Regions from separate parts of the Homo sapiens genome. Here region 1 is linked to region 2. The links are contacts of gene promoters, found by promoter capture Hi-C in blood cells and fetal thymus (Javierre and others, 2016). All regions are on one chromosome and are shown on one strand. The core of a region is centred on a gene start or on the middle of the fragment in contact, and the rest is flanking DNA. Distances in the headings are between cores, read along the strand shown. Region 1 overlaps NR1D2 (nuclear receptor subfamily 1 group D member 2). Region 2 holds the start of THOC7-AS1 (THOC7 antisense RNA 1).

Region 1 (5,730 bases), core at 3,201-5,700, about 40 Mb after region 2:
TGGCGAGATCACCATTCTTGGGATTACCATTGGTATCAGAATTAGAGCTATTTGGAGAAGATGGAACAGAAGAGGAGGAGGACTGGAAACTATTCTCAGAACCCTCACTGTGACAAGAGGCAGGGCTTGAGGCTGAGCTGGAAGAACTGATATAGGCAATCACACCTCCTAGAAAATAGGAGGAAAATCACATAATTAGATACAAGATAATACGTATTTTTTATTTTTGCAAATCTCAACAGTAAAGCCATTAACTTTAGAAACAGGATACTGATATGAAATGTTTGCTTACACCAAAAGCAAAAAATAAAGTATTTCCTTATTTCCCATTATTCGTCCTGCTTCCGCAAAGTTCAAAGCACATGTAACTCCCACTGATTTAAAAAGGGAGATAGGCCCGGCACACTGGCTCATGCCTGTAATCATAGTACTTTGGGGGCTGAGGTGGGAGGATTGTCGCTTGAGCCTAGGAATTTGAGACCAGCCTGGGCAACATAAGGTAATGCTGTTTCTACAAAAAAATTTAAAAACTTGCTGCATGTGGTTTGCACCCAGCACCTCTAGTAGTGCCAGCTATTCAGAAGGCTAAAGCGAGAGGATCACTTGAGCCCAGGAGTTCAAGGCTGTAGTGAGCCATGATCATGCTACTGCACTCTAGCCTGGAGACAGAGCAGGACCCCATCTCAAAGAAAGAAAAAATTAAGTGAGAAGGATTTCACTGGCTTGGATATTCTGAGCACATGGAGATCCTCACACCTAAAGCTTTTCATTTTCCAGTATTTTCCTAAAAGGACTAAAAAATGCTCCTAAGTAACTTCATTGCTCAAACAAACTGGCCATGAAGAAATCTGGTTCTGGTCTCTTCTTTGCCTCCTGTTATAGTTATCTGACACAATCCTAGAAACAATGAATTTATCATTTGCCTCCCCCAACACTTGGCTAGAAGCACAGGTTAATCCAGAACAGATGTAACATTTAGAATGGTAGATAAGGTAAATTATCTCAAAACAGGGATCGTTTCACAGCCCTTGCTCCCACACCTTTCTGTTTTGGTGTTCCCAGAAGACATATGTGGCTATCCACTAACCAATCCCCAGTTCAATACTCTCCCTTCTCTACCCCATTCTGCCATTCATCTCTAAGCAGCTCTTAAGAAATCCAGACTCACTACTTGTTCTTCTGACTCGCTCTTTATAGGTGTTAAAGATGCTAGAAGAATGCATGCTATACCAGAATAACAGTAAGGCTGAAGCTAATTCCCTCTACACAGAGCTATTGTCAAAATGTGATTCCCAATTTTATATAACCGCCACAACCCTTCTGAAAACTGGCATTTTTTTTTTTTTTTTTTTTTTTTTTTTTGAGACAGAGTCTCACTCTGTCACCCAGGCCGGAGTGCAGTGTCACAATCTCGACTTACAGCAACCTCCACCTCCTGGGTCCAAGCAATTTTCCTGTCTCAGCCTCCTGAATAGCTGGGACTACAGTCACATGCCACCACCCCCAGCCAATTTTTGTATTTTTTTTTTTAGTAGAGATGGGGTTTCACCATGTTGGTCAGACTGGTCTCGAACTCCTGACCTCAGGTGATCCACCCACCTTGGCCTCCCAGTGCTGGGATTACAGGTGTGAGCCACCGCACCGGGCCTATCAATCATTTTTAAACAAAAATCCACAAAGCAAAATGCTGAGGCCAAAACAATCCCAAAAAGACAGACATTGCCGTCTTTAGGCAAGAAAAAAAAAAACAGGCAGAGAAATTTAGAGTCACTTTTAGTCTGTCATGTAGTAGATATCAGATGTGTTTTTAAGCACCAATTATATATATTGAGGCTAAGAAACAAACCCTCTGAGGAGGAAAGCACAACCACAACTCTCAAGGGGTTTGAGTGCAACCCAGAAGGGAAGATAAAACAGGTGCCTACTATGCCAAGAAACACACAATGTTTTTCATCAGACACGATTTTTTTTTTTTTTTTGAGATGGAGTCTCACTCTGTTGTCCAGGCTGGAGTGCAGTGGCACAACCTCAGCTCACTGCAACCTCCGCCTCCCGGGTTCATGCGATTCTCCTCCTTCAGCCTCCTGAATAGCTGGGAATACAGGCGCCCGCCACCACGCCTGGTTAATTTTTGTTTTTGGTTTTTGTTTTTTTTTTAGTAGAGACAGGGTTTCACCATGTTGCCCAGGCTGGTCACGAACTTCCGACCTCAGATGATCCGCCCGCCTCCACCTCCCAAAGTGCTGAGATTACAGGTGTGAGCCACCGTGCCCAGCCCAGACACAAATTTAACATACATAAATTCAACTATATGCACTTGATTTTTAAGACAAAAATATCACTAACGTAGACAATTCCATCCACTGTTTTATTCATGAAGCCTATGCCTGGACTCGATCATGAGGTGAGAGGTGCAAATCTGCTCTTCCCAGTTAAACCCACTGTCCATATGCTCTCTTGCTATGTGCATCTCACCTTAATTAATCCTGCAATTAATATTTTTCCTGCAACATGGTCCCTAACTACAAACCAACCATCTCAAAGTGTGGGCCCTGGACTAGGGGCATCAGTATCACCCAGAATCTGTTAGAAATGCAAATTATCAGGCTCCGCTCCAGATCTACTGGATCAGAAACTTTAATAAGCCCTCTTGGTGATTCTGATGCACATCCAAGTTTGAAGAACACTGCCACAAGCCAACTACTTCATCTGTGCTCCCTGGAAGACAAAGTGACCAAGGTAGTTTTCATCTACCATTTATTCTAAAATCTAAAAACTCCAAAACTACAAACACAAGAAGAAAGATTCCCAACTTCGAGTTTATTTTCATCACCCAGAGAAATTATGTAAAATACATATCCTCAAAACTAGCTGGTGCTTTTTCAGAATACATGTTTCCAAGGCCCTGCCCAGACGAGAACACATCCTCAGGAATGTGCAATTTTAACAAGCTCTCCAAGCAATTATTTGCACATTGAAGTTTCAAAATGGCTACAATCAGTGAATTCAAACACAAATTGGCCCATAGTTTTAAAGATTGATGATTTCATCGATACAACCGCCAGAATATCATTAATACCCTGTGAATCCAAAGAGAAACCAACTTAACCTAGAAACCTAGCCAGTGTCATGTTACTGGATAAAACCATTGTGCTGTCTTTATATAACTTTAGAGATCTTAAGTCCACATTAAAAATTCCAGGTATTAGCACACTGCTACTTTTTCACAGATGTCTCCACTCACAATAGGACACTTTACAAAGACAAATATTCTTAGTCCTCAATGAAATTCCAAAGGAAGATCTCACAGCTATTTGTCTTCTCTAAAATAGTGTCTTAAGTACTAAATTCACATCTAACATCTCAGGAAAATAAAAGATAAGAAAGTGATGTTTTTCCTTGGAAGTAAGACTTTCCTAGGGCCCCCATTTTCAGTCATTTATGTTCACAAGATCTGCTGACTACCTTAGCTAAGAAATAAACTTTTAGAAATTAGAGCTGGCCGGGCACAGTGGCTCACGCCTGTAACCTCAGCACTTTGGGAGGCCGAGGCAGGCGGATCACCTGAGGTCGGGAGTCCAAGACCAGCCTGACCAACATGGAGAAACCCCATCTCTACTAAAAATACAAAATTAGCCAGGTGTGGTGGCGCATGCCTGTAATCCCAGCTCCTCAGGAGGCTGAGACAGGAGAATCACTTGAACCCGGGAGGCGGAGGTTGCGGTGAGCCGAGATGGCACCATTGCACTCCAGCCTGGGCAACAAGAGTGAAAACTCCATCTCAAAAAAAAAAAAAAAAAAAGAAAAAGAAAGAGAAAAGAAAAGAAATTAGAGCTATGCAGATGGCTTAAAAATTGGTTGCAAGCACTGACGGGGCAATGGACTGTATCGTAATTAATTAACCAAAAAACAATTTCCTTTGCAAAAGCTTCAATATCCAACCTAAAAGAAACTACTGGGCTATTATCAATCCAGCGAAGATCCAATTCCTGTCTTAAGAAAACAAGCATCTGTGCCAGGCACCAGAAAATCAAAGAAGACCCATCTAGAAGTAGCTGCATTCTCCTAGCAAGACCTTCAATATTGATTTAGTTGTCTTGGCATCTATTCTTGCTACTAGACACCCATCTATGAACCTGACTGATAGCAACCCAAATGGGTTAAATTTTAATTTCTTAGAAGAAAAGGAGTACATCTAGTAGTTCCTCAACCTAATGAAGAAAGGAAAGTGAAACTACAAGTCACCAAGTACCTACTGGATGTCAGGAATAAAATGACACAATTTCATCCTCACAAGAAGAACTCTGTGAATTAACTTTCATCAAATCATTTTTTAAACAAGGAGCTCAGAGAGGATAAGTCAGCCACTAAGTGGCAGGCCAAAGTTTAAAGTCAAGGTTGTCCAATTCCAGAGTACAAACTTATTTGGTGAGAAGACCTGAGCAAGCAAGTCACTTTCAATCTTTCTAAACCTGAGTGGTCTTCTATAAAATTGGAATATCTGCCACTTATTACAAGACTGAAATGAAATGGCATTCATAAGTGCTTTTTTCATACACTGTTTTTGATGATAAAGTAAGAAGAGTAAAAATCCCCAAACCAGCAAGTCCCAACACCTCCAAGAAACAGGCAGTATGTACCTCTTTGAAACCCTGAGCTAAAATTAGCTGAAGCAGTCTTCTCTATTTTCAGTTGAAAGGGACCCTGGACCTGGGCCAGGTTCCCAGGCTAGGGCTTACCCAGTGGTCAACTTCAGACAAGCCTTAAGTCAATATCCAATTTTGTACTGCTAGGAAGCACTGATATTCCTGCATATATTGGGGTCTTCTTACCCATTTTCTACACTTGTCCATCATCAAAACCCTCACACTTCCTCTGTCCACCATCCTGGAGATTATGTTTGACTTCAAGTCATGACTGTACTTTTCTGCCTTGTGACTTAGAACAAAACATTTTATCACCAAGAAGCTTTAGTTTCCCTCATTTTAAAAGTGTTATAAATAATTTCTACTCCAAGGGTGGTAGAGTAGATCTAACTGAAGCACTAAAATTCCAATTGTGTCCTAGGTGTCAGGGCTCCAGAGAACAGCATGGTCCTTTCCCTAAAATGCCTTATAGGCCAACTGGGGAAACACCTATGTTATTAGGAGCAATGTTTCACACACATGATTGTGACTGCTGAGGATCATACTAAAGAGGGCAGAAATCAATAGGGGCAAACACATCCAAGGTTGCAATATCTAAGTGGGGAATTGAAGACTGTTTAAATCATCAAAAGAGACATTTTTTAAATAGGGTGACACAAAAATAAATGGTGTGTTTTTTGTTGTTTTTTTTTTTCAGACGGAGTTTCGCTCTGTCACCCAGGATGGAGTGCAATGGTGTGATCTCGACTCACTGCCACCTCCGCCTCCTCGGTTCAAGCGATTCTCCTGCCTCAGTCTCCCAAGTAGCTGGGATTACAGGCACCCGCCACCACACCCGGCTAATTTTTGTATTTTTAGTAGAGACAGGGTTTCACATGTTAGCCAGGCTGGTCTCGAACTCCTGACCTCAGGTGATCTGCCCATCTCAGCCTCCCAGATTGCTAGGATTACAGGCATGAGCCACCATGCCCAGCCAAATCGGTCTTATTTTATAAAATAGACATTATTTTTATCTCCATGTAAATTACTGGAGAAGGGAGGTCAAGGTGTAATCTAATGTCTGGAAATAAGCCAGCATGACTAA
Region 2 (6,265 bases), core at 1,875-4,374:
AGGCCCCGCTCGCCGCCACACGCGCCCGCTGCACGGCCCGCTGGGCCTCCCCTGAGACCCCTGGCCTCCCGGCCCGCTTCCGGGAACCCCTCGGCCTCCCCGGCCTCTTCGCCAGAGCGCTTCGGCCTTCCCGACCTCTCCCCGGAGCCCCGGGCCTCCCCGGCTGCTTCCCTGAGTCCTTCCTCCTCTCGCCAGAGCCCGAGCGCCCCTCGGAGACCCTCGGCTTTCCCCGTCCGCTCTCCCGGAGGCAGCGCGGGGCTATAGGGTGTGCCGGGAGCGTGGTCGGTGGGCTGGGAACACACGTGGGTGGCCGAGACGGCTAGAAGCGGTGCAAGGGCGGGTGGGACCAGAGGGAGTCCGGGTTTGTCTAGGGGCGCGGTGAGGACCCAGGAGCCGCGAAGGGTGGACAGTGGTGCCGGGCTTAGGGCTGGGGGCCTGGAAGGTTTGTGGAGGTCTGGGAGGGAGTGGGAGCTCCAGGGACGGGGCGGGAATTTCGGGACTCGTCTACAAGGGGTGTCAGGATACAGAGCGTGACACCAGGAGGGGTCCTGGGGCATATTGGGAAGCACTCACAGACAGTGGAGTCGATGGCAATGAGGCCTTGAACTGCGAGTGGATTGTGGGTGAGAAGGAGGAGCAGGGAATTATTTATAAAAGGAATAGATAGGGATGAGGTATCCGGAGGGTGATCAGGAAGTGTACCTGGGAGATTTACGGGGGTAAGGAGGAGCCAGTATAGTGATGAGACCGTCTAGGGTAGATCAGGACGATAAAAGATGTATGTGTGTGTGTTAGGAAGGGTGGTTGTCAGCTGGGATGAATTTAGAGGGGCAAAGGCTGGGTTTGTGGACAGTCTAAGGGAGATGGTCTATGGACTGAGAGCGGAAATAAGGTGACACTTTGGGGGAAGGGGCATGATTGGCAACTGGAGGGAGAACCTACAAGGTATCTGGTTAGGGAGGAAGGAGGTCCTTTGATATCTGGGAAGGGGATATCTAGGGCTCTTGGGTGTTTTTCAGGAGATGGTGACCGGTAACTGTAAATGCCTGTGGAGAGGCCACTTCTTAAGAGTTGAAGACCACCAGGGTCTCCACATTAAAGGGCCTGGCCATGGGAAGAACAGTGATAGGCCCAAATTTCCAGACTGATAAAGAGTAGTGGAGGTGGGAGGCTACTAAAGACCCAGGAACTTCATGTGGAATTTCAGCTTTGCTTCATTCCAGTTTCATTTATTTAGTGGATATTTATCCTTCCTGGACTAGGCTTTGGGATTACAACCCAGAACTAACAAGCAAGAACTTTTCCCTCTCCAAAATTTTGGTCTGAAGGGAAAGAAACATTGACTAATGAGTTTTAAGAGTGACAAATATTACCACAAGGAAGTACAAGGTTGGGAACTGTAGGAACATGTAACAAAGATTATTTATCCAATCAATGGAAATGAGAAAGCCTCCTCGAAGTTAATCCCATTTTTGAAGAATAAATAGATATTGGACTGGTGTTCTGGGTTGGTAGCCACTTGTATAAAGACCCCAAGATGTTGGAAGAACTCAAAGCTGACAAGTATTGCTAGAATTTAGAAAGTTATGAGCCAGAGATCTCTAAGGGCAATAGGAATCCATTAAAAGTTTTAACACTGGTGTGGTGTTAATCAGATTGGCATTAAAACACACACACATGCCGGGCACAGTGGCTCACGCCTGTAATCCCAACACTTTGGGAGGCCAAGGCAGGCGGACCTCTTGAGCTCAGAAGTTCAAGACCAGCCTGGAAAACATAGTGAGACCCCATGTCTACAAATACAAAAAAATTGGTCTGGCACAGTGGCACACACCTGTAGTCCCAGGACTTGGGAGTCTGAGGAGAAAGGATCACTTGAGCCTGGGAGGTTGAGGCTGCAGTGAGCCAAGATCGCGCCAGTGCACTCCAGTCTGGGTGACAGAGTGAGACCGTGTCTCATTAAAAAAAAAAAAAACACACACACACATACACACTGTCTCTGTTATGTGCAGAATGATTAGAGGAAGAGAAAATGAGGAGCTAAGTTTCCTCGCCACTTACTAACGTTTACGTAGTGCTGTTAGGTATTATTCTAATTGTTATCCCCATTTTACAGATGAAACAGACACAGGTTAGCTTGCCTAAGGTCGCACAGATAGTAGTTATAGAGGGTCAAAGGCAGGGAGACCACCTGCCGAGTTCCTGCTCTTCACTATTATGCGTCCTGTGTCTGCTACTTCTGCAGTGGCCCTGGTGAGAGACAATGAGGACTGTGACCAAGAGGGAATGCAAAGAGGACAGGTGGGAGGGAAATAGGGAAATTTGTGAGGTAGAATGTCAGGACTTCAGGTATTGAATGGATGGTGGGAGAAGGGATTTAGGATGATCCCAGGTTTTTGACTTCACTGTGTGCCTGTTAGTGCTACTTTTCTATTTATTGAGATTGAGATGTCCAAAGGAGCAACAGGCTTTGTCAGATGGGAGATAGGGACAGAAGATGAGTTCTAAAGTAATGACTGCAGTCAAGTGCCCCCCCACATCCTTAAAAGCCACAGGAATCTCTACCCTGCCACTTACAGACTGTCTCAGCTTCAGTCTCTGAACGGAGATAATAATAAAATCCACATCAGCGGATTGTTTTGAGGATTAAACACAAAAAGTTGTAAAGGGCTTTGCATTGAGTCCAACACATAATAATTAATATTCAGTAAATATTAATGTCAGAGTTGTTTTACTAATCTGTCTTCCACTTTCCTTTGATGTGGACTTTGCCTTCTCTCTTAATCTGCACAGGTTGCCTTTTCCTGCCTTTTCTATCAGGTGACACTCCACTTATTCCTCAAGACCCACCTCAAAAATCCCCTCTTTTCTTTCCTAGAAGTAGTTGACCTTCTGCCTACTAGCCATATTATTTTATGCATATTGCTGCTGTCACCCTTAATACGTTATTTATATGCCTTATGCTAGAAAACATTTAAGGCAGTTCACTGTAATGAGAAAATATAAAAATTAAACGGATTAGAAAACAAGACAAAAAGAACATTGAGATTAGGAAAAATAAAGGGAAGTCAGAAGTGGGGTGATCCTCAAAATGCAGGAGGATAAAGTCTAGTACATTAATTAACCAAGCTGTAAGTGACCTGTTTCTCCAGTAGGCCATTCTGAGAGGCAGGACCTCGTCTGCTCTGTGATCTAGTGTTCATGAGAGAAGGCAATCTTAGATGCCCAGGAAAAGCACTTTTTTTTTCTGATTTGAACTAGAGGAAAAGTTTATCATTGAGGTCTTTATAAATGAAAGCCAGTGTCATATCCTTAACCTCTTTTCAGCACTGAAGATCATAGAGCTGTTTTGTAGCACATCCCTTGCTAGGTAAAAGAAGGCTAAATCACAATTTAGAAAGACATTCTAAAGCCAGTAGAGGCTGGGTGTGGTAGCTCACACCTGTAATCAATCTTAGCACTTTGGGATGCTAAGGCAGGAGGATCACGTGAGCCCAGGAGTTTGCGACCATCCTAAGCAACACAGCAAGACATGATCTATACTACAGAATTTTTCAAATTAGCCAGGCGTGTGTGGTGGTGTGCACCTGTAGTCTCAGCTACTCATCTCTACTAAAAATTTTCTTAAATTAGCCAGGTGGAGTGGAACACACCTGTAGGTAGTCCCAGCTACTCAGGAGGCTGAGGCAGGAGGATCACTTGAGCCCAGGAGTTTGAGGTTGCAACGAGCCATGATTGCACCACTGCACTCCAGCCTGTCAACAGTGCTAGACCCTGTCTAAAAATAAATAAATAAAATCAATGGACAATGTGGTTTAGGTGGGTAGTGGGTAGCTCTGCTGATCTGGCTTGATTCAAATCAGGGTTTTTTGATTGAATATCTAGACCATAGAGGAAAGACAAACTACAACTTCTTCAGACAATCCTCTATAAACATGGTTTTTGTCAGCTGAGCTTTTGAAAAAATCAAGCTGAAATGAGTGGTATGTGTGATCCGTCAACAAGTATTTATTGCATACCTTCTAGGCACAATGCGAGGTCCTGGCTACTTTGCAGTGAACTAGACAGAGGAGGGCCCTGGCCCCTGCTTTGGGGAAAGAAGCCATAGTGTGCAATCAAATAAGTAAATAAGATAATTTCTGAAAAGGAATGTAATTAAGTTCTGAGAATGAACTTGATGGAATGAGGACAGAGAGTAATGGGGGAGGGCAGTGATACCTGACAGGTTCAACCACATGAAGAGCCCAGGAAAGTATTCCAGATAGAGACAACAACTAGTGCAAAGGCCCGAGGTGAAAACAAGCTCTGCACCCTTTAGAGGAAATAAGGAAAGCCACTGGGCTGGATCTAGGGACAGGACTGCATCCAGGTGGGCCAAGAGGAGTACGATGCAAAAGGAGGTAAAAGGGAGCTCAGGAGGAGCCTTGCAGGCTTTGGAAAGGAGACTGAATTGTCCTTTGTGGGCATTTAGAAATGATAGGAGGATTGTAAGCAGGAGAGTTAGTGATCCAATTCATCTTTTAGATCATTCTGAGTTGCATAAAAAATGGATTCTAGGAAGGCAAGAATGGAAACAGGGAGTCCAATGCAAAATATTCCAGATGAGAGAAATGTGGGCTTGGATTAGAGCGATGTTAGTGTGGAAGATAGAAGTGGATGCTCTTGATATCTCATTCATCCTCCTGGAAAGCTCTTGGAGGAGTACCAGTACCTGTCCATGGAGCTTACATAAGAGCCAATGTCTTTTACAAATTTGATGTGCCTGTATCACTGTCCCTTCATGTAATCCATTCCTCTGGGTCTGCGTATCCAGTTGGACTGGGAGCTCTTGAAGAAGCAGCCCTTTATTTCCTGCACTCAGTTTGAGGAACTGCCCTGCTTTAGAGTAGCTATAGCTACTAGACTGGATATTTTCACCACTACTGTCATGTTATAAGTGAAAAAGTAGAGGTCTTTGGAAGTTAGTGACTTGCAGTCACACAGGTAGTTTGTGACAAAGCCATTTTCTCTCCTTCCCTTGTTGCCAACTCTAGCAGTCTGGCTAGCTGAAAAACAGTGTGGATGTTGTCACTGTTAATTTAAACTATGTTAACTGTATTTTGTATGTGTTAATTTAAAGGATGCTAAATATTGTTAGTACCCTGATAGAAATCATTTCAGAAGCACTTTTTGCACTACAGAGAACATTAGGTGATATATTGATATGCCAGAGCAACAGATGAGAGATGGAGAAAGGGGTTGGGGTGGAATGTGGCTCTACATTCTATTTAATAAAGCTTGCTGGTTTTGACGGTAGCTTTTTTTTTTAACTTAGAAAAATGTAATGCATGAATATGTACTTGTTGCAATGTGAAATAATGGTTTTTAATATGCCTACGAATAATATGACAGAATAATGGAGCTGCATTATGACTTTCTAATAATGTAATTGTATATATTTTTCTGTGAATGCAGAGGTGAGTAGTAACTCATCTGTGAAAGGAAGATAATAGTACACACTTTGTAGAGTTGTTTCAAGGATGAAACATGATAATATATGTAAAGCACTTTGAAGTTGAGTGACCATTTAATTTATTGTGTAAACCAGGACACTTTTCAGAGTGAAAAGAAACAAATGGGTTGTGTGGTCACCAACTAGGGTGGTATAAATGCTGTGCAAGTGTTTGCTGCTGCTGTTATTCCTATTTCAATTGCTGATCCAATGTTAATTAGACATTTGTGGGCACAGGGTTCTTTTGTTTTTGGGTTTTTTTTTCATTAGTGCCATTGCATTTGCCCACTTTCTTCCATCTTCTGTGGCCCCAACACAGGGATAACTGCTGCAGTTCAACTATGAAATGATGTTTCTTTAGCCAAGATAATTGGTTTTTCAAAGCAAGATGGACATTTCACCTTGACTTTATTAGCACTATACTACTCTAAACATTTAAATAGAGAGAAAAGACAAAGGACCTCAACATGATGTTTTGCATTTATTTTCCTTTTAAAATTTTAAATTTAATTTTGGTGCACGTAATTTACCTTGGCATCAGCAATTTATGTAGACCAGTCAGAAGTATCTTAGGAGAGGTTAATATCTACATGGAGGAATCAAACCATCTTATTGTTCCTTCCACCCACCTTTTATGTGTCTCCTTAATATTGTTGACCTTAAAAATTGTTTTAATGGCTTTGAGCTTTTTGAAAGGAGGGACCAGGTGTTATTTTACCATAAGGAATGTAACACAATGGGCTAATATGTGTGATTCATCTTAATAACATGAGC

The links. Contacts are between HindIII fragments. The CHiCAGO score rates a contact against its expected background, and 5 or more counts as called.
Region 1: a fragment that was not itself captured here is called in contact with the fragment with the promoter of THOC7-AS1 in region 2 in 1 of 17 cell types (non-activated CD4 T cells); the score reaches 8.3 in non-activated CD4 T cells.

What each region holds. Positions count from the first base shown.
Region 1 is chr3:23,948,975-23,954,704 of GRCh38, reverse strand. NR1D2 (nuclear receptor subfamily 1 group D member 2) reads right to left here. Exons shown (of 8, transcript NM_005126.5): 2 at 1-168. Among named protein-coding and RNA genes, the nearest start is that of NR1D2, 6.6 kb to the right of the region's middle. RefSeq lists a silencer at 5,673-5,730. The HindIII fragment of the contact is 1,040 bases long and covers 3,931-4,970 here.
Region 2 is chr3:63,857,504-63,863,768 of GRCh38, reverse strand. THOC7-AS1 (THOC7 antisense RNA 1) reads right to left here and starts at 3,124. Exons shown (of 2, transcript NR_104326.1): 1 at 2,773-3,124; 2 at 1,950-2,270. The region is part of intron 1 of THOC7 (THO complex subunit 7); the gene reads left to right. It also overlaps a transcript of ATXN7 not described here. RefSeq lists a silencer at 26-245. The HindIII fragment of the contact is 14,056 bases long and covers 1-5,278 here.